Linked DNA regions of Homo sapiens: all the other regions are linked to region 1. The links are contacts of gene promoters, found by promoter capture Hi-C in blood cells and fetal thymus (Javierre and others, 2016). All regions are on one chromosome and are shown on one strand. The core of a region is centred on a gene start or on the middle of the fragment in contact, and the rest is flanking DNA. Distances in the headings are between cores, read along the strand shown. Region 1 holds the start of UPP1 (uridine phosphorylase 1). Region 2 overlaps GRB10 (growth factor receptor bound protein 10). Region 3 holds the start of FIGNL1 (fidgetin like 1). Region 4 has its middle 16 kb from the start of FIGNL1. Region 5 overlaps IKZF1 (IKAROS family zinc finger 1). Region 6 overlaps IKZF1 (IKAROS family zinc finger 1). Region 7 overlaps IKZF1 (IKAROS family zinc finger 1).

Region 1 (2,621 bases), core at 76-2,575:
ATGAATGGAACCAATGGTCTTTTTAACCAGAAGACCCCAGGAAGGCAGAAAATGAGCCAAAGAAAGGCCAGGCAGGGGACAGTGGGGAAAGGAAACAGGGATGGAGAAGCAGAGAGGGAAGTGCAGAGACAGGTCACCCAGGCGCCTGGAAACTGCCTCTATGGCCTTCACGGGAAACGGCCTCTTTCTACTCCGGATCCCAGACTGTGTTTCTTTGAAACTGACCGTCAGAGGAGAGCGGCTGGAGGCGGACAGACGTCTGCAGTGGGAGGCGCTCCAGGCGTTCCAGGCAGTGTCCTGCCGGCGAGTCACCCGCGACCGCGAGTCACCTCACCAAGCCCTGAATTGGGACAGGAGACGAGACGTGTCGACGAGCTGCGGAGTTCCTCGCTTCTCTGGGCCCTGCCAGGTCCAAGAACAGGTTGCCATATAAAAGAATCGTGAAGGGACCCCCTTCCCCATGCAAATTATGTCATATAACGCATATGCCTGTGAAGTTTCTCTGCGGAGCTGCCAGATAACTCGATGACAATATTTTATGCGGTAACATTTTGTTAAATGTTGACTCGATGGCCACTTGACGCCATCTGAACTCTGAAAGCTCGCGTAACAATCATCCTCCAAATGAAATTTTACCCCCTTCTCCCTTTAAAAGGCGGTGGGGACAAAACATCACTTCGTCACTTAAGTCACCATCTCCTTCCTCTTATCTGGGGCTCCCAGCATAGTTCTAGGGGTTCCCGCACTCCCCGCCCGGGTTTGGGCTGCGAGAAGCGCCCGCCTGCGCCCTGCGGGACCTGACCCTGCCGGCTCTGGCTTCACCCTCGCTGCGCCTCGGCCCGGTGGGCTCCCCGCCCAGAGCCCCGCGCGCTCCGTCGCCGGGACGTGGGAGAGGTAGGCACGGGGTGGACCCGAGGAAGCACATCCCGCCCGCGCGCTTCCCCCACGCCCACCTCGCTCCGCACACACCAGCCCCAGAACCTCCCGGCCGCGCGCCCGCCTCCCCGCGCAGCCGCGCCGGGCCGCTCTCTGCTCCTCTGCAGCTCACAGCCAAGGTGCACCAGAGCCTCCGTCACCGCCCCTACAGGTAAATGGGCACGTGGCCAAGGCAGGGGACGGGCTAGACCCCTGGGAAGAGAGAACGGCGGGAGCCGGGCCGCGGGCGACTCACCACTCGGCCTGCGCAGAGAGCCGCTACACCCGCGGCGCCATCCTCGCACTGCGACACCGGCGACAAACGCAATGCTCCAGGGCCGGACGAAGGGACGGCTCTCGGGAGGCTCGCAGACGGCGGGGCGCGGGTCTGTGCGCCGGAGCACTCGAATGAGGGAACCACCTGCGAGGTGAATCTCATATGGAGTCTGCGAGCGGCCCCGCCCTGCCCGGGGGTTACCGCTAGGCTCGGGCCCCGCCTGCCCTGGGCCGGCGAACTCAGCTGACCGCATCCTGGGCCATCCCGCAGACAAGCCCCGCCCGCCCCCACCTTCCTCTGCCCCTCTGGCCCCGCCTCCCCCGCCTTCCTCCTCTCCACCCTCCCGCGAAGGTCCCGGGAGGCTCAGCCCGCAATTGCTTCTCGCCTCTGCAGAGCAGCTGGGCAATTGTAAAGAACCAGCAGCCAGTTCTGTTACTCATTAAACAGCCCCTACTACAGAGGAAATCTTCTTACCCACGTGGTCCTAACCTGGGGCGGAGGAAACCGGGCTAGAAGCGGCTCTAGGACTAACCCAAGGTCACGCCGCCAGGCAGGATCCCCGGTCTGTCTGTCTGGCGGTGGCCCCGCGGCTGGGGCCAGCGGAGAGAAATGACAGCGTGGAACCAGCCCTGGCCCGGTGGTCGGGAATGTGGAGCTGGCACTGTCACTGTGTGTACCCTGGATCTCTCTGGACGGCCTCGGCTTCCCCCCTGGGGAGTTTCTCTGGGACCTTCCTGATCCTGGGAGTTCCCGCTTGCTGGGGCAAAGCCAGGAGCTCGCCCGAGGAGGGGAAGTGACTCATTCACTTCGAGTCGCAGCTAAGTGGCCGAACTGCCTCAAACCGGCGCTGCACTCTGACCCCCAGGGGCCGGACCTGCCTGCCCCCGGCCGGTGCCCACTCTCCGTCTCAGGCGTCTTTCCTGGTCCTCTCCCTGCTTCCCGAACGCGCACTCTGGTGAGAGCACAGAGCCTGGGAAAGAAGACGACCTAGAGGCCCGGGCAGCCCAGCACCTCTGTTACTTGCTTCCTAAAGGGAACTCCAGTTCCTGAGAAAACATGGGGTTGGGCCGGGAGTGGTGGCTCACGCCTGTAATCCCAGCACTTTGGAAGGCCGAGGCGGATGGATCACCTGAGGTCAGGAGTTCGAGACCAGCCTGCCCAACATGGTGAAACCCCGTCACTACTAAAAATACAAAAAATTAGCTGGACGTGGTGTCGCGTGCCTGTAATCCCAGGTACTAGGCAGGCCGAGGCAGGAGAATTGCTTGAACCCAGCGAAGGATGCAGTGAGCCGAGATCGCGCCATTGCACTCCATACTGGGTGACAAGAGTGAAACACACAAACAAATCAAGGAAGGAATTAAGGGTTTTATTGAAAATGAAAGTACGGCCAGGCGCAGTGGCTCACACCTGTAATCCCAGCACTTTG
Region 2 (2,621 bases), core at 54-2,553, 2.7 Mb before region 1:
TCATTACTCATTCCAATTTTATTTCTTTGTCCTACATAATAGACCAACATCTGCAACAACTAGTTTTCCTCGTTTTCTCCTTGAGACTCTCATAGTGTTTGTTTTTAATGTAAACTTTTTATTGAAGTGTAAACTTTTTATTAAACTTGCTTCTAATTTTAGCTCTTTGTATTTTGATACTTTGCTGTTTGGAGGATAATACTGTTTTTATTCATTATCAATTATGCTTTTATCAATGCTTTTTAGTATTTGGATTATTGTTTCTTTGCTTTAAGTGACACTTGACTATCATTGCTACCATTGCTTTTATTTTGTTTGCATTGTGTTTGGTTTTTATATCTGTCCATTCTGTCTTTTTCTTTTCTAGCTCCCTTTTTAAAGCTTTTCTATTTGCCTTGGGTATTTTTTTTTTTCATTAGAATGGTTTTGAATATTATTTTGAAAAGGAGAATTGGATGACTGACATTTACTGCTATGTCTTCTCTCTTCTGTTGCAAATTGTTTGGGTTTCGAATGAATGTGTCTTCATCTATTTTCCCTTTGATGTTTAAAGAATTATGAGTTTCTTTTAATGTTTTTATTATGGCTTAGAATGTAAATATTGTTTTCCATTCTACATGTGATTATTTTAATATACCGTGAACATTGCTCAATTATATTTTTCTTAATAAAGAGTAGGATCTTCTGGCTTTTATGGAAGGTACAGCTTTTAAAAAAACAATTCTATGATGATTTAAGACTCAAAACGTCTTTCTAAAATTTTAAATTTTGAATTGAATTTTATTATTTAACCCAATCATCATTAATTGTACAACTTACCCTTATTAGTCAGCAGATCTTTCTTGGGTCCCTGTTACTATCTGCTGTTCTGGGTATGGCAGGGAACAAGACTGAGTTCTTGAACAAGATGGGGTTTGTGACTGTCTCAAAAGTGAAGCTGTCAGGAAGTGGTTGTTGCCATGGAGAAGATACACCAGGGCGATGAGCTAGAATGGTGTGCCACTTGAATGGGTCAGGTGTGGCAGACATGCGACTGTCATCTGAGTGACTGGCAAGTGGGGGCCAGTGTTCTGGGGGAGAGAGGAGAAATTCTGAAACACACGTTCAATGTAGATTTCCTAAGGAATGCAGTAAAATGTTCTAGTACTGTTAAATGCACATTTTGGATTTGTGGCTAAATAACAAAAGAAAGGATTCATGTGGCACAGTCACATGACTTTCCCTCCAGCCTCACACAGTTTCCGGGCTGGCTAGGTTCCTTTAAGCAGATGAGCTGTGTTTTCAAAGAGCGGGAGTCACAGGAAGAGGTGGCATAAGAGCTGTGGTGTTTGCTGGGAATGTTTCTGGCTCTCCTGAGTCAGGGAGGAGAGAAATGAGGACTGAGGGGTGAAGAGGGAATAGAAAGAGAAAGGCCAGTGGGCCAGCCTCTCTGTGCCCTGGACAGCACTTGGATGTGAAGGGGCAGGCATGGGAGGGGACGTGAGGGAGCGGGCCCTCCAACTGAAGTTGGTGACCCCGATGTTGACCACAAGCCCAAACACAGCCCTGCCCTATTTTCAAACTGTAGGTTTCAACCTGTTACCGGGTCTTGAAATCAAGTTAGTAGGTCATGAAAAGCGTTTTTAATAAATACAGTAGAACAGAAAAGGAAATATGAGAGTGGATTGCATGGGTTCTTAGCATGCACTTAGTACGTTGCCATGTGTGATGAGCCACATGCCATGCGGGATAGACAAGGTGAGCATGGATTGGTCACGGATGTGTCATTTGGTCATCTGCTTACTGGCATTGGGTTAGAAGATGTCTATTTGACTATCTTTTCAGAAGGGAGGGTAAACGCTCTACAGTTTAAATCCACCATAAACATAATTTGCAATTAGCTGCGAGGTGAGGGCCTAAGAGTATCATCTACAGTCTGCTAGACTCTAGAGTTTCAGTTAGGAACACCCAATGTACTTTTCAGAAAAAGTGTTATTGGGTGCAACATTTTTGAAGTTTATGACAGTTGTATCATTTTAATTTAACTAGTACAAGTTGCCCTAACATGGAAAAACAAAAAACAACCCATATAATCGGAAACACAAAGACGTTCAACTTCAGCTGCTGGATCCAGAAGTGTAAATATTGGCATTGTTAAGAAAAATGTTGACTTTAGAATGAGTAAACTTTTGACTCTGCTTGAACGATTTTTCTGAACTATAGTCCAATAAAGAAGTTTAAGCTTTATCATGAAGATTATTTAAATTTTCATTAATTAAAATAAACAAATTTTAATATATTATTTATAATGATAATCTTGCAAAGGAGGGTTTAACCTTCGACATTAAAAGAACAATGTGAAACCACCACAGCAAGCCAAACTTGTTAGTAGGCCCTTTTAATCAAGGGAAGCAAAAAGACAACAGATATTGATACAATTTCTTAATCATCTGACAACGGTTAATGAGAAAGTCTTTAGTTATTATAGACAGAAAGCTGCTATCTATCTACTGGCTTATAAAACTATTCCTCATTATCTGTGAATATGAATCACATATTTTGATAAATCAGCTGATGATTTAGAATCTGAACTCTTTAAAGTAGCACAGTAGATGATCCAGTTGTATAACTGTAGGATGTTC
Region 3 (2,621 bases), core at 78-2,577, 2.4 Mb before region 1:
CTCTATCCCCTGCCCCAGACCCTCTCTTTCTCAGGAAAGGATATCCAGGGATCCGGGTCCCAGTTAGTCAAGGAGATATAAGAGGAAGGCTATGAGGCTTTCTGGGAAACATTTTCTTTTTCCAAGAGAGAAGTGTTCAGAGGGAAAAGGTCCTTTCTCAGTTTGGCTCCCTCTTTGTGTTTTAGATCTGGTCATGTGAGGCTGCCTGGCTTGGATTGTGAGGGCATCTCTCGACAATGAAGTGACAAGCCTGGGGAGGAAAATCCACAGGCGAGAAGGTGGCAGAATGGAGAGATGGTCCTTCATGACTTCTTTGAGTCACCAGGTCCAGATTTCCCGCCAACCTCCAGTCTTCTTGTTATGTGATCTGATATCATTATTTACTGCAGAGGCCACTGAGTGGATGCTCTTACTTGTGTCTGAAAATCCAATTCACTAAATTAATCAAAATACGGCACTCTTCTTTTGAAACCTTGCTCCAGAACAAAGTGGAAGGTAATGATGGGGTGCTTTTCAAAGTTCCAGGGAGGTGTCCCTACACAGCAGACAGCTGTCCAAAGGAATGTAGATGTTGGCTGCGGGGAGATCTGAGTTGCCAGACTCAGTCAGAACAGGTGTCCTCTCCCTTATTTTATCTTAAACATGCATGTCATTTTTGCATGCTACTCTATGCGGTTCTTTCAGCCAGGGAACATTGCTGAGCACCCGCTCACGTGCTGTATGGAGCGCAGACTGCAGGGTGCGAGGGGCGGAGGTGATGTGCTAGGCCTGAATTCAAGAGGGGGCGCAGCCACAGGCCCCGCGATGCCGGGGTGGCCTCTTGTAACGACGTTTTAACCGCTGACCTAAGTGGATCCGCTCCTCTCCCGCCGCCCGCTCCCTGCCTGCAGCACAGGATGGCGGCTGGCTTTCCCGAGTGGGCGCAGGTGAGCCACGCTTGCTCTCCCGGGTGGGCGCAGGTGAGCCATTGTTTGCTCTCCCGGGTGGGCGCAGGAGAGCCACGCTTTGCTCTCCCAGGTGAGCCGCCGCTCGCTGTCCCGGTGAGGGGAAGTGAGCCACGCTCTATGGGAATCCTTCGAATCTTCATTCAATTTCCATCGCCTCCTTGTATTTATTTGGGAGTACTTTTAAAAATGAAGCCTATGCACAATGATGTAATAAGCGTTTATAGAACACCACTGGTCGGAGCTAGGGCCTAGGTGGCGGTGCCCGGGCCCAGGTGCCGCGCCCACGCCCCGCGCGCCGAACGCACGCACGCACGCACTCACGCACTCACGCACGCACGTACGGCGCGAGTCCGAGGGCGACAGCAGCGCGCAGGCGCACGTCAGTCCCCGCGCTTTTCGGAGGCTGCCAGCGTCCCACACCAGCCGCAGGTAGGATGCGGTGACGGGAGGCGGGGCAGGGGCGCTGCTGACCCCTGTGGAGCATCAGGGTTGGGGCGTAGGGGAGAGGCGGGCGTGTGCCTCTGGAATGCTGGGGGTCGCGGGGCGGTGACTTCGCGGGAGGCCGTGGGAGGCGGGAGCCAGGCAGTGGCTGTGCCCTTTTGCTTCTGTCTTAGCGGGAGGGTGGCTGACCCGCTAGCCCAGAACCAGACTCATCCAGGATTAGGAAGCTGGGGCCCGGCGTGGACGGCAGGCTCGGGGCCAGGTCTGCGGGCGGCTTCCTTTGGCAGAGCCTGTCCGGGGGCGGGGCCGCTTACCGCAGGCATTTACTGGGCCCAGCGGGGCTCTGGGCGCCCACAGCGGGGGTCAGTCAGTTCCCCTGTGACCCAGGCAAGCTCTTAATCTCTGTGATGAGAAAGAAGGGCTCATACCTTTCAGGGGTCATCGTGAGGAATCAGAAGAAGCAGTATTTTATAGAGTATTTTCTAAGTGCTGAGTCCTCTGTCTAGTGCTTTGCAGAATTAAAATACCTTGTCAGCTCAGTGATGTTGCTGCGCTTCTTTTATAGGTGAAAACCGGCAGAAAGACATTAAGAGATTTTCCTGCAGTCACTGCTGGCAGATGATAGAGCCAGGATTTGAAAGCAGGCAGCCTGGCTCCAGACCCTGTGCTCTTAACTCCCGTTTTGCATCAAGAACAGAATCCTATGAAAGGCTTGCACAGTGCTTGGTACTGAGTAGGCACTCCGTCAGTATTTTAGTAGCTATTATTCCAAAGGACACTGTATTCTAGGTACTAAGACAATGTGAATGGAATGGAAAACAATTCCTCCCTGCAGAAGCCAACTGTCTAGGAAGACAGATAATGACATTATTAAAATAATCAGAACATTGGCAAAATAAAGAAGATTGAAATGCAGTTCATATGACAGTGCTAATTAATCATACTTTTTAGATCTAGGAAAGGCCATAAAGGTTAAATTGACTTGGAAATGGTAAACAAGACAATGGTTGTGTCACTGATCGGTGATGGCCAGTTTTTGGTTATCCTTATTTGCCATTTAAATGATTGAATTGAAAGGAAGAAGTAAGACTTGGAAGATGAATATTGAAGGAAAGGTGAAGATGGAAAAGAGAAGGGGGTTTATTCTGAGAACAGTGACTAGAACTCTGAGGTATGGTAGAAATTTCAGGATAACAGATGATAAAGGGGAATGAAGCCATGGAGAGGAAGAGA
Region 4 (2,621 bases), core at 62-2,561, 2.3 Mb before region 1:
AGAAGTCAGGATTTTAGAGTAATATATCTATGGAGCACAGGAGTAGTTTAGTGTAATTTATCAACTGCAAGGGCTCTGAGTAGTTAGAAAAACAGGAATAATATGGTACAAAAACAAAGTAAATCCAGACTCAGAAATTCAGCCACTGCTCCCATTACTGAGCCCTATCATGAAGTTGGAACATATGATAATAACTAAATCAAAAAAAGGCAGCTACCATTTTGCCATGAAAATGACTTCAGTAGACATTTGTCTCATTAAAGAGAGGATACTCCCTCCTGTTTTCAGCAAATTACTGCTGAAATCCTTTGGACTGAATTAAACTAGGCAGACCTGGAACTGTCACAGATGTTGCCAAGACAATTATTGGAACTCCAAGAAAATGATAATTAACATATTACCTCTGAATAATGAGAACCACATATGAAATTTTAAACCTGGTAGCCATATTAAAATAGTAAAAGGAACCAGGTGAAATTAATATCCTATTTCAACATGTAATCAATATAAGAATTGTTTATGAGATACTTTATATAAATTTTTCTTCTTCGTATTGAGTCTTTGAAATCTGGTGTATATTTTGCATTTAAAGCACATCTCAGTTCCACCTCACCATAGTTCAAGCGCTCAGTCACATGAGACCAGAGGCCGCCACGTTGGACAGGGCAGATCTAGACCAGTATAGCATCCGTGACCATGTCTGTAATTAAGGCTGTTTCCCTTACAACTCTGTGCGGTATATCTGCAGGCAGCCTTTTGAACTGCAAAATAATTTAATTTTTATACCTTTAAGGTAAAAGTTGAGAATCTGGTGCTTCACAGAAACAGACTGGCTTCTGCTCCTTAAGAGCCTCACATCCTGTTACCCCAACATTGCCACAGATTTGGACACTGATCTTTAAAAACTCTTAGCCTTCATTGTTAGGCATTTTGCTGCAGTTCAGGCTCATTCCATTATCTAAACTCATGTGGTGCAAATCATACCATAAAATTATTTTCAGAGGAAAAGTTTAAAAAGTAATATTTTATTAATAGTTACAAATAATTTAGAAGTACTACATATTGAAGAGCAAAAGAACATAAGGCTATAAAAAAATAGAAAGCTTGGAATAGTGCTATTATTGATAGATGTTTTTATTGAAAAATGTCCCTGAAGTTGTTGATACTGAAGTTTGAAACTCACAAAATAATGTGTTTCTAACATTGCCTTTTAATTTACTGTTTGTGTTATGCCTGTTTAATACTTGAGGTAGATAGATGACTTTGTATTAATAAATGATCATCAGGTGTTTTACATGCTCACTTTCATTTAAATAAAAAATTAGTATTCAGTATTGCTAAAACATCTAACTAAACATATGTAACATGTGAATATACATATATTTAAATTTGTGTATATCATATAAATTAAGATCAAAACAAAACATATATATATGTATTTGTTTATGTCTAAAATGTAAGTGTAACTGTTAGTAAAATAGAAATAGGACATAGATCAGAAATAGGATATGAAGCTTCCAAATCATAAGAGAAAAAAACAAAGGAAACCCAATTCGTGAAATTGAGAAAAAAATGTTTAAAGGTGAAGAGAAACTAATAAAAGCTTAATAAAGAGAAAATTTTAAATAAGATGTCAGGAAAAAGAGGAAACATTTCAGGATTCATAACAAATGCAAAAACTTCCTTGATTAATAAGCATAGCCTCCTAAATTAGGTAAAAAGGCAAAGTTTAATTACATTATCTTTATAAAATGAAATAGAAATATTGAAAATAAGGGAATAGAAATATAAACAGGAAAGTGCCAACAAAGATCAGGAACAGGATTATTAATACCAGAAAAAAGAGGAATCAAGGTAAAAAGCAATAAACTCGATAAAGAAAAATATTTTATACTGTTAAGAAGTTTTTGCCTTTATATCCATCATAAACCTTTACACATTGAGCTAAAAGCATCCAAACAGAAAGAAAATACCAGTCACAGATGTTTACACATTGAGCTAAAAGCATAAAAATGTAAATTTAAAATTTAAAAATTATTAAAATACTAGCATAGCATTTGGAAATAGTGACATTACCCAGTGTTGGCAAATATTTGGAGAGTAGGATCCTGGCATCCACTGTTGTGGAATGTGGATAAACTTAGCCTTTTTGGAAAGGAATCTGGTAATATCCGCCAAAAGTGATTCCACTTCTAGGAATCTATACTACATAAATAAGTTCACTGAGACATTTTAATATGTAAAAAATAGATGGCTTAAATATCCATCAGTGGAAGATAGCTGAATCTGTTCTATGATCTGTGCAGTGGGTTTTAAAAATCAAGTCAATGTATGTGCACTGATAGGGCAAGAGCTCCAAGTTCTATAATTCAATGAAAAAAGCAAGGTGCGCATAGTCCATGTGCTTATATATGTAAGTAAAGGAATGTGAAAAAGCTCCAGAAGGGCATACAATGACAGTTAAGAGTGTTTACCTCTCTGGAGGTATATGTGTTGTGTGAGGGAGGAAGATTTCCATATTTGACTTCACTCACACACAATATGGTTGTTTTGCGTACAATGACTATCTACTCTTTTATAATTTAAAAAACTCAAATACTATTTTTAAAGTACTGAACATA
Region 5 (2,621 bases), core at 54-2,553, 2.3 Mb before region 1:
TTCAACCAACTGACTCAGGGGGATGGATGGAAAAGAACAGAGTAGGTGAAATTTGCAACAAACTGACTCTAAGAAGGCTCTCACCTTAGAGATATTAACTTGGATAAGGCGCATCTTTCTCTGTGATTGCATATTGAAGGAGTGCTGTCTAAAGCCCTTGATCCTCTGTCTCTCTTCCTTCACTCAGTGCATTGGTGCAGCAATTTTGTTTATTCCCGTTTCCAAATGCCACACCCTTCTGTGAGCAGAGAAATCCATGACTCAAGAATGGTATCTTTGTAAACTCCATCTTTTCAACAAAACTCAAATGTTTATGAGGAAATATATTTTTAAGACCGAAGGGGAATAATTGATTTATAGAATTTATAATGACTCCACATGAACACAAGTCAGCCTTGATACTGCTGACCGGGAATATTGGGAATATTCTTCAAGTGCTTTTCTATTTTTTTTCTTGGAGGGCTTCCCAGACATTTGATTGGTTTAGAATTCATTTGGGTCAGTGGTTCTCCCCCAGGAGTGATTTCTCCTCGCAGGGGACAGTTGGTGATGTCTGGAGAGTTTGGGTTGTCAATTCGGGGTGCTACTGGCGTCTATTGGGTAGCCACCAGGGATACTGCTAATTATCCTACAATGCACAGGAGAGCTCCCGCCTAACAAATAAGTAGTCAGCCCAAAATGTCATAGTGCTGAGACTAAGAACCCCTGTTTGGATTAAATGCTGAGGTACTTATGTACAATTTCCTCTCTGTTGCTTCATTTCACCTTGGGACAGTGTTGGTGAAGACAAGTACTGTAAATATTTGAAATGGTATATTCTTCATTGCCTAGGTGGTTGAGAGTAATGACCTTAATGATTGATAGCATTAATCTTGAAGGAGACCCTTGCTTGTTGGGATTAGAATCTCCACACACCTTCCTCGGGCTTCAGTGCCTCCATGTCATAGCACGGATGGGCGGGGTTCTCACCTGCAGTGCCATTTGCCTCCTCTTTCCTAGGGGATCTGGTGGCATTACTCTCCGAAGGTCTGGCTCAGTCCCTCAATTGCCCTGTGCATTCCAATATCCTACAGGTGCAGAGCCAGCCATCCTATGTATGTGTGGACACACATGCTGGCTTGCCTTTACAGTAAAGAGCTTCAACATGTTTGAAAGCTTGGTTTCAAACAGGTGAGCTCTGTGTGTTAGCAACAGAGATGCTGGGCTTCACATATTTCATTGAGTTGAAAATTAATGACTGTTCTAAATCACTCCTTTATGGGTTTTAAAACGAGAATAATATATAGTGAGGGTAGGTAAAGAAACTTACCAACACTGAGAAATTCAGGCTTGTGGCTACAAACAGATGTACATAATTAAAATGAGGGCTAGGATTGGATTTCTTCAGGAAAAGAGGCCTCTGGTACTAGATGGAACCAGCCAGGGAAGGAAGAGATTTGAAATAAAGCTTTGGTTTCTGAGGAATGTTGCCGTTTGAGAGATTCAAAAAGAAAGAAGATCCAAATTTCGGGACTGGTGTTTAAATTGTAGTGACAGATTTTGGGGGCCATTAAAGGTATGGGAGTGAAAAAGCGGGGAACAGGGCTCCCCAGATATGCCCACGGGAAGACAGTCTCCTCCTACGGGGCAGCAAGCCTCGGGAGGCTCAGGCCATCTGAGCAGCCTCCGCAAAGCCAGTGAATCCAGGACGATCCCAAAGGCTCTAGCCCGGCGTCTCCCTCCACCCAGGGCAGTCTGACAGACACGACTTTCCCCAACCAATTCATTTTCCTACGCAGAATATGACTTGAAATAGTATTTTCTCTCACAAGTGCAGCCTCTCCGCCCTAGATGCATGTAGCTCGAAGCTGGCCTGGGCACAGGTTGTTGGCCCTGCTGTGTCTTGGCACTTGGGTGGCGGCACACCTGTCCTGTCTGCTCACCTGCAGACCCACACAGCAGGGGCTGTGCTCTCTGCTTCTGGGGACTGGAAAAAGACACCTGGTGCGCGAACCCCGTGCTTAGCACAGGGTAGAGCACGCTCCTTCCCAGGCTGTGGCGTGTTTTATCTATTTCTCTCTGAAAATTTAGACTAATCGTTTGGAGAAGGGGATTCTAGGAAGCGACAGGTGAGGGAATCTCAGCCAGCGGTCTGGGGAAACATCTAGGAAGGTAGCAGTTCTGGATGCTCCCAATGCAGCCCTGCCTCTAAAAATAAAAATCTTTTCAAAAGCAAATCAAACCCCAATCAACCAACTCAAACAAAAAACAAAAAACAGTTACAAATCCAAACACAACATTGTCTGGTCCAGTCCAGTCTATGCTGCTGGCGGGAGCGAGAAGGCGGCAGTCCTTGTGCTTTTCCTGGGGTGGCTCGGGGTCTGGGGTGGGGGCGCGGGAGGGCTTTAGCTCATGTGGAAGCGGTGCTCCCCTCGCGTTATGTGCGACGAGAACTCGTACCGGTCCTGGCTGTGGTAGCCGCACATGTTGCACTCAAAAGGATCACGGAAGCCGTGGCAGCCCATGTGGATGGTGTACATGACGTGATCCAGGAAGAGCACCCGGCAGTGTTCGCACTTGTACACCTTCATCTGCTCCCCGCTGGTGCTGACCACGCGGAGCGCGTCCTGCGAGTTCTCGGA
Region 6 (2,621 bases), core at 76-2,575, 2.3 Mb before region 1:
CTTCCACCCAACAGGCACACAAAAGTTTGCAGAAGAAGGCAAGTGGAAATATGCCCAGGGCCCTGGTCTGGGGGCTCCACCAGGGCTTGATCCTCGTCATTCTGCCCATTCTTCCCTCCATGCCTGGAACATGCACACCCAAACCCAAATCCCATCTTTTCCCCCAGACCCAGCTCTCCTATGTAGCCCATGCATGTTGATGGTGCTTCATCTGGATTCCATACATTCCAACCCACAGGGGGCTCGCCTCTACCCTTGCCTCTCATGGCCAAATTATGTCTGAGGTCTTTGGAGAGGTCTCCATTCTTATTGTTTTCCAACCACGTCACATCCCAGCATGGCCATGAAGCCCCTGCCTTTGCCCAGCCAAGGCAGCCCAGCCTGCACCACATCCTGCCTGTGTTTCCTGTCCACCGTCTGGCATGTGAGTTTGTTTGCTTGCATCATGGGGACCTTGCTTTCAGGCACCCCTCTCAATCAACCTGCTCATTGCCCTAAGATTATCATCCTCAACCTGCTCTTATCCGGTCACAACTGCTTCCAAGCTTTCCATGGGTCTGCACTGTTACGATGAGAAAAAAATCCTCCAGTCCTGTGTCAAAATCTCCCTACAACTGGTGAGCAATGAATAAACTTCTCAGCAGGTAATATTATTCAGATAAGCAATAGTAAGGGTGAACCTTATGGAAAAATGCTTTAAAACAAAAAAGAGAGCCCTGTAGCTCATGTTTTAGTAGAAAGCCACACGCAGATAAAGATAACATCTACCTTCTTGTCAACAAAGACCTCAAGACCCATAGGATTAGCTACAACCAACCAACATTCACCATGTTTCCCAGATGGGAAAAACAATAGGGCTAGTGCTTTGCAAGTCCACTGAAGGTGAAAAAGAAGGCAGGAAAACGCCTTCAGTGCCTGCAAACCGTGAGTCTGTACAGTCTTCCCTTCAGCTCCAAATGCCCCTGGCAGACACTTACTCTATCTGGCAATGGGGTTGAGTGGACCTTCCGAAGCGCCTCACTTACCCTCATGGTGTTTCAGGGATGAGTGTCAGGTCGAGGGACAGTTTTGGTTGCTTCAAATGGGACATGTCAGTGATGGCCAAAGTCACTATGCTTTACTTCAAATCCCAGCTGTTGGAGCTACCTTCCAGAGCAGATGATTTGGAGAACTTGACAGAAGATTAGGAAAAACCAATGTCTGGCCCTTTCTCTCTTCATGTAGTACAACTAGGCACCAGTCCTATTTTTGTTTTTGTTTTATTAACACAATTTTAATTGTTCACAGTGAACTAATTAAGATAGAAAAAGCTCCAATTAATACACCTATGGCTTAGAAAGGGAGAAATGGGTACTTCTAAAGAGTACAAGAAAGGAAACAGCAGGTTCAAAATGATGGTTCTTTTATGGGATTAGCTTTTTTTTTCTTTTTTGAGATGGAGTCTTGCTCTGTCACCAGGCTGGAGTGCAGTGGCATGATCTTGGCTCACTGCAACCTCCTCCTCCCGGGTTCAAGTGATTCTCCTGCCTCAGCCTCCCGGGTAGCTGGGACTACAGGCGCGCACCACCATGCCCAGCTAATATTTGTACTTTTGGTAGAGATGGGGTTTCACCATGTTGGTCAGGATGGTCTCGATCTCTTGACCTTGTGATCAGCCCACCTCGGCCTCCCAAAGTGCTGGGATTACAGGCGTGAGCCACTGTGCCTGGCCAGGATTAGCTTTTAAATGATTGTTTTGGTGCCATGTGCAATCTTCCTGGATCCTGAGGTTGGAGCATTTCCTCAGCTGCCCTGCTAGGCCTGTTTCATGTCAGCCAACTTCCGGGTCCAGGATCTCCATATAACAATTTAGGGGAAAACATTCAACAGGTTGAAGAACAGGCTTAGGGATATTTTCCCAGTGTTGTAACCTTCTTGCTTACTCTTTTTTGGAAGAAATACTACTTTTTTGTAAAAATGATATTTGCTGATTCTAAAGACACTGAGTAGACAGAAGCACTATGATGGCACCTCTAGAAATTACCCCCAAGTTTTATAATTTAAGGAGAATCATATGCAAAGAAGAAAATGCAAAAATGATAATGAGAACGGGGTAAGAAAGCTTGGTTCATGCTTTAAAAGGAGAAGGGAAAGGGACATTCAGGCAATCAAGAAAGGCTGAAGAAAACTAAGAGGGCTGGAGGAACAATGATTAGATAGGAAGGCTCTTGTCAGGGATCGTGGCAGGGGTGAAGAGTGTGAGGTCCTCAATATAAGTGAAAAATGAAATTTAATTTTGTCATTCCAAATTTTATTCTAATAAGGGAGATTTGTGCTGGATCACTGGGCCAAAATGATAAGGAAGGGAAATGCTACAAAATAACTGGGCTGCCCATAAGAGTGTGGGTCACACGGCGGGCAGGAGGGGCTTGGGGTGTGTGCATGGAGAGCCACCTTTCCATATCTAGGCCCTGTCAGGACATGCTGGGGCAGCGCCGGGCAGAGCCACATGGTGATGACTGGCTGTGTTCCCTGCCACATGGAGAGGAGAGGCACAGCAGGCAGTGCGGAAGGGACGACATGGGGCTGCGGAGCTCGGCAGTCGTCAGAGTGTCTGCAGCGTGGGCCACAAGGCAAGAGCC
Region 7 (2,621 bases), core at 69-2,568, 2.3 Mb before region 1:
CCGGCCCTAAATTTTTTTGCATTTTTAGTAGAGATGAGGTTTCACCTTGTGGTCCAGGCTAGTCTCGAACTCCTGACCTCAAGTGATCCTCCTGCCTCGGCCTCCCAAAGTGCTGGGATTACAGGCGTGAGCCACAAACCAGGCAGAATTGCTTGTGGGATGAGGAGATAGATTATTCTGTATTTCATTTCTATCTTTTACCTTTTTTTTCTTTCTGCCAAGCTGCCTCCATCTTTTCTTACACCAGAAGGCAAATTCTTTGGCCCCATGAATCTCATTCTTCTGGTTCACCCCTCTGCCTAGCAGAGTGCCTGGGCCACAACAGACATTTAACATGCATCTGTCTCATTAGCTGATTCTCCAAAGACGGCTCAATTTCCACCTCCCGGGGATCCCATGTGTTCTGGAGTGCTGACACCACTCAAAACCTGAGCTCCAAACCTAGAGTGTGGTGCAAGGCTTCCCTTTAGGTCTCTGCAGTTTGTTTAGCTCCACAACGGAACTAGGTCTTATGTACCTCTGATTTGCCATGATCTCTAGTCCAATATCTTGTAACTGATTCAGTTTGTGCTTTGGAGACAATATGATTCTGAGTAATATGTTAATAAGCCTGCAGATTTCTTTATAGTTTTTAAGACTAAATAGGATAAAACAAATCCATAGTATATACCCATGAATATTTTAGTAAGGTGGTAATTCACTGTGGGATGTACTAATAATTTCTGAGATCCCTGGATGCCGTCAATTCAGATTATTTATACCCTATGGGCTGGGAGAAGACCAGAGGGTGTGACCTTCACAGACTCCAGACTTCTAAGAATATTTTAATTATATAGCAAAGCTTAAAATATTCATTCCTCTTATTTTTCCCATCTATTAGGTTGGTGCAAAAGTAACCGTGGTTTTTGCTATTACTTTTAATGGCAAAAATCGCAGTTACTTTTGCACCAACCTAATATATTTGATTTAAATTTTTAGATGATACATTTTATTTTTTCCCCTCATCTGTGTAAGCACTGCTCCTTTCCCTTTTAAGTATTTTCATCTCTTACTTAAAATGTTGCTTCTTGACTTTCAATTCCAACTAAGATGATTTTCTATTTCTATAGCCTATCTCTTAAAAAGGTATCATCACAATACACTGAATTTAGTGTTTCTGTTAGTCAAGATGTCAATTACTTTTCTACTTTTAACACTGCATTGTGTTATGTGATCGTGAAGCAATTCAAGTAGATGTAGTACCTGCCTGCAAGGAACTTGCAATCTACCTGCACATGAGGTACAAAATAACGGGAGTATAACAGCTTATACATGATTGTACTTTTAGCACTGATGCAGAGGAGTGGAATAATTCTAGATGTGCTCAGATGAACTTAGGCAAATAGTTTGGAAGTTGTAAAATGTGTTTCCCAAAGCACAAAAAATAGAGAGGCAAAATGTGGATGACTTGCCCTGTGGGTTGGGGATGTGTGAAGAGAAGGAACCTGGCTTAGAAACACTGCTGATTGACTTCATAAAGGAGTCATTGGAAGGGACAAAGAAGTAAAGGAAGACAACATCAGCGGATGTGGCCTGGGTCATCTACATGTGAGGACAGTCACACACTAGACACAAGGCAAAAGGTGTGTCTTTTCTGACCTGGTCATGCAGATTAATGAGTTTTTGAAATACCACTTTACATGTCATATACTTAGGAAAAAATATGATTTCATTCAATGTATTTTGCAGATGAAGAAAGAGGAGGTAGGCCTGCCCCACACATCCCGATTCTGGTAAGGCAGAGAACTGAAGCTTAAACCCAGGACTTCTGCTTCAAAATCTTTTACAACAAGCTGGGCTCACCTTCTGGAGGATTTTTTGGGGGTTTGGGGAAAAAGAGGTGGGTAAATTTATAAGTCAGCTCAGAAAGCAATTCTCACGACTTCACAATTAAGCCTTATTTGTGAACAAAAAAACAGCATTCCTCAGGTTAAGTTAGCACTTTATTCAAAGGTCTAGGCTCTAAAAGGATTTTGGACTATTTCTAAAAGGAAAATAAAACCCAGACTCAAATATACAAAAGCAAGTGCTTGGGTCTCTGAAGGTAATCAAAACAGGGAGATGCAAAATAAATGTGAGTGATGAAAAAAATGCGGATTCTCAACGTTAGGTCTTCCAGGCATGTGTGCTGGTGCATTAGGCCTTCAGCCCATCACTGCTGCACTGTATTACACTCTAGGTACACTCAGTTAAAGACATGAAATGACCATAGCTAGAGACAGTAACATTGTAACCACAGCGTGTCTTCTCCTGGCACAAGCCTCTTGTACAAAGAAGTAGTTCTCCTTGTCCACAAATCTCAAACCAGGAAATCCCTAATTCATTTAATGATCAGGAAAATGCAAGAGATTTGTGTAGTTGTGACTCTTCCAGTTACTCCCCGCTGTACCATTATTTTAGGTTACCTATCACACAGGATGGTGTGCCTGATGGCACTGGCAGTCATTTCTCTATGTCTTGTAGAAAAGTTTACTCCTGGGAAAAACAATTTGGTCACTAGTCCTTGGACCTAAGTAACAGAATCTTGATGAAATGGTACCCATGATCAAATGTTAAAAGGAAGAAAGGGATGGAGAAAAGAA

Evidence for each region. The method cuts DNA at HindIII sites, captures the fragments that hold promoters and counts their contacts. A CHiCAGO score of 5 or more calls a contact.
Region 2: a fragment that was not itself captured here is called in contact with the fragment with the promoter of UPP1 in region 1 in 1 of 17 cell types (naive CD4 T cells); the score reaches 9.6 in naive CD4 T cells.
Region 3: a contact is called between the fragment with the promoter of FIGNL1 here and the fragment with the promoter of UPP1 in region 1, in 5 of 17 cell types (naive CD8 T cells, non-activated CD4 T cells, activated CD4 T cells and 2 more). The highest score is 10.6, in naive CD8 T cells.
Region 4: a contact is called between a fragment that was not itself captured here and the fragment with the promoter of UPP1 in region 1, in 1 of 17 cell types (total CD8 T cells). The highest score is 5.8, in total CD8 T cells.
Region 5: a contact is called between a fragment that was not itself captured here and the fragment with the promoter of UPP1 in region 1, in 1 of 17 cell types (activated CD4 T cells). The highest score is 6.0, in activated CD4 T cells.
Region 6: a contact is called between a fragment that was not itself captured here and the fragment with the promoter of UPP1 in region 1, in 2 of 17 cell types (naive CD8 T cells and non-activated CD4 T cells). The highest score is 6.3, in naive CD8 T cells.
Region 7: a contact is called between a fragment that was not itself captured here and the fragment with the promoter of UPP1 in region 1, in 3 of 17 cell types (total CD8 T cells, naive CD8 T cells and activated CD4 T cells). The highest score is 8.3, in total CD8 T cells.

Annotation. Positions count from the first base shown.
Region 1 is chr7:48,087,969-48,090,589 of GRCh38, reverse strand. It overlaps UPP1 (uridine phosphorylase 1), which reads right to left and starts at 1,325. Exons shown (of 9, transcript NM_003364.4): 1 at 1,172-1,325; 2 at 226-402. RefSeq lists silencers at 761-950, 1,291-1,630 and enhancers at 731-1,260, 1,771-1,980, 1,793-2,322. The HindIII fragment of the contact is 3,480 bases long and covers 1-2,621 here.
Region 2 is chr7:50,738,621-50,741,241 of GRCh38, reverse strand. The region is part of intron 3 of GRB10 (growth factor receptor bound protein 10); the gene reads left to right. Among named protein-coding and RNA genes, the nearest start is that of GRB10, 43 kb to the left of the region's middle. The HindIII fragment of the contact is 1,840 bases long and covers 384-2,223 here.
Region 3 is chr7:50,449,056-50,451,676 of GRCh38, reverse strand. It overlaps FIGNL1 (fidgetin like 1), which reads left to right and starts at 1,327. Exons shown (of 4, transcript NM_001287492.4): 1 at 1,327-1,376; 2 at 1,954-2,559. RefSeq lists silencers at 1,181-1,370, 1,512-1,806. The HindIII fragment of the contact is 8,767 bases long and covers 1-2,621 here.
Region 4 is chr7:50,432,641-50,435,261 of GRCh38, reverse strand. No RefSeq gene overlaps it. Among named protein-coding and RNA genes, the nearest start is that of FIGNL1, 16 kb to the left of the region's middle. The HindIII fragment of the contact is 411 bases long and covers 1,106-1,516 here.
Region 5 is chr7:50,400,391-50,403,011 of GRCh38, reverse strand. It overlaps IKZF1 (IKAROS family zinc finger 1), which reads right to left. Exons shown (of 8, transcript NM_006060.6): 8 at 1-2,621. The coding sequence ends at 2,385. Among named protein-coding and RNA genes, the nearest start is that of FIGNL1, 49 kb to the left of the region's middle. The HindIII fragment of the contact is 292 bases long and covers 1,158-1,449 here.
Region 6 is chr7:50,360,686-50,363,306 of GRCh38, reverse strand. All of the region lies in intron 3 of IKZF1 (IKAROS family zinc finger 1), which reads right to left. Among named protein-coding and RNA genes, the nearest start is that of IKZF1, 57 kb to the right of the region's middle. RefSeq lists enhancers at 2,019-2,536, 2,537-2,621. The HindIII fragment of the contact is 1,556 bases long and covers 548-2,103 here.
Region 7 is chr7:50,343,281-50,345,901 of GRCh38, reverse strand. The region is part of intron 3 of IKZF1 (IKAROS family zinc finger 1); the gene reads right to left. Among named protein-coding and RNA genes, the nearest start is that of IKZF1, 40 kb to the right of the region's middle. The HindIII fragment of the contact is 950 bases long and covers 844-1,793 here.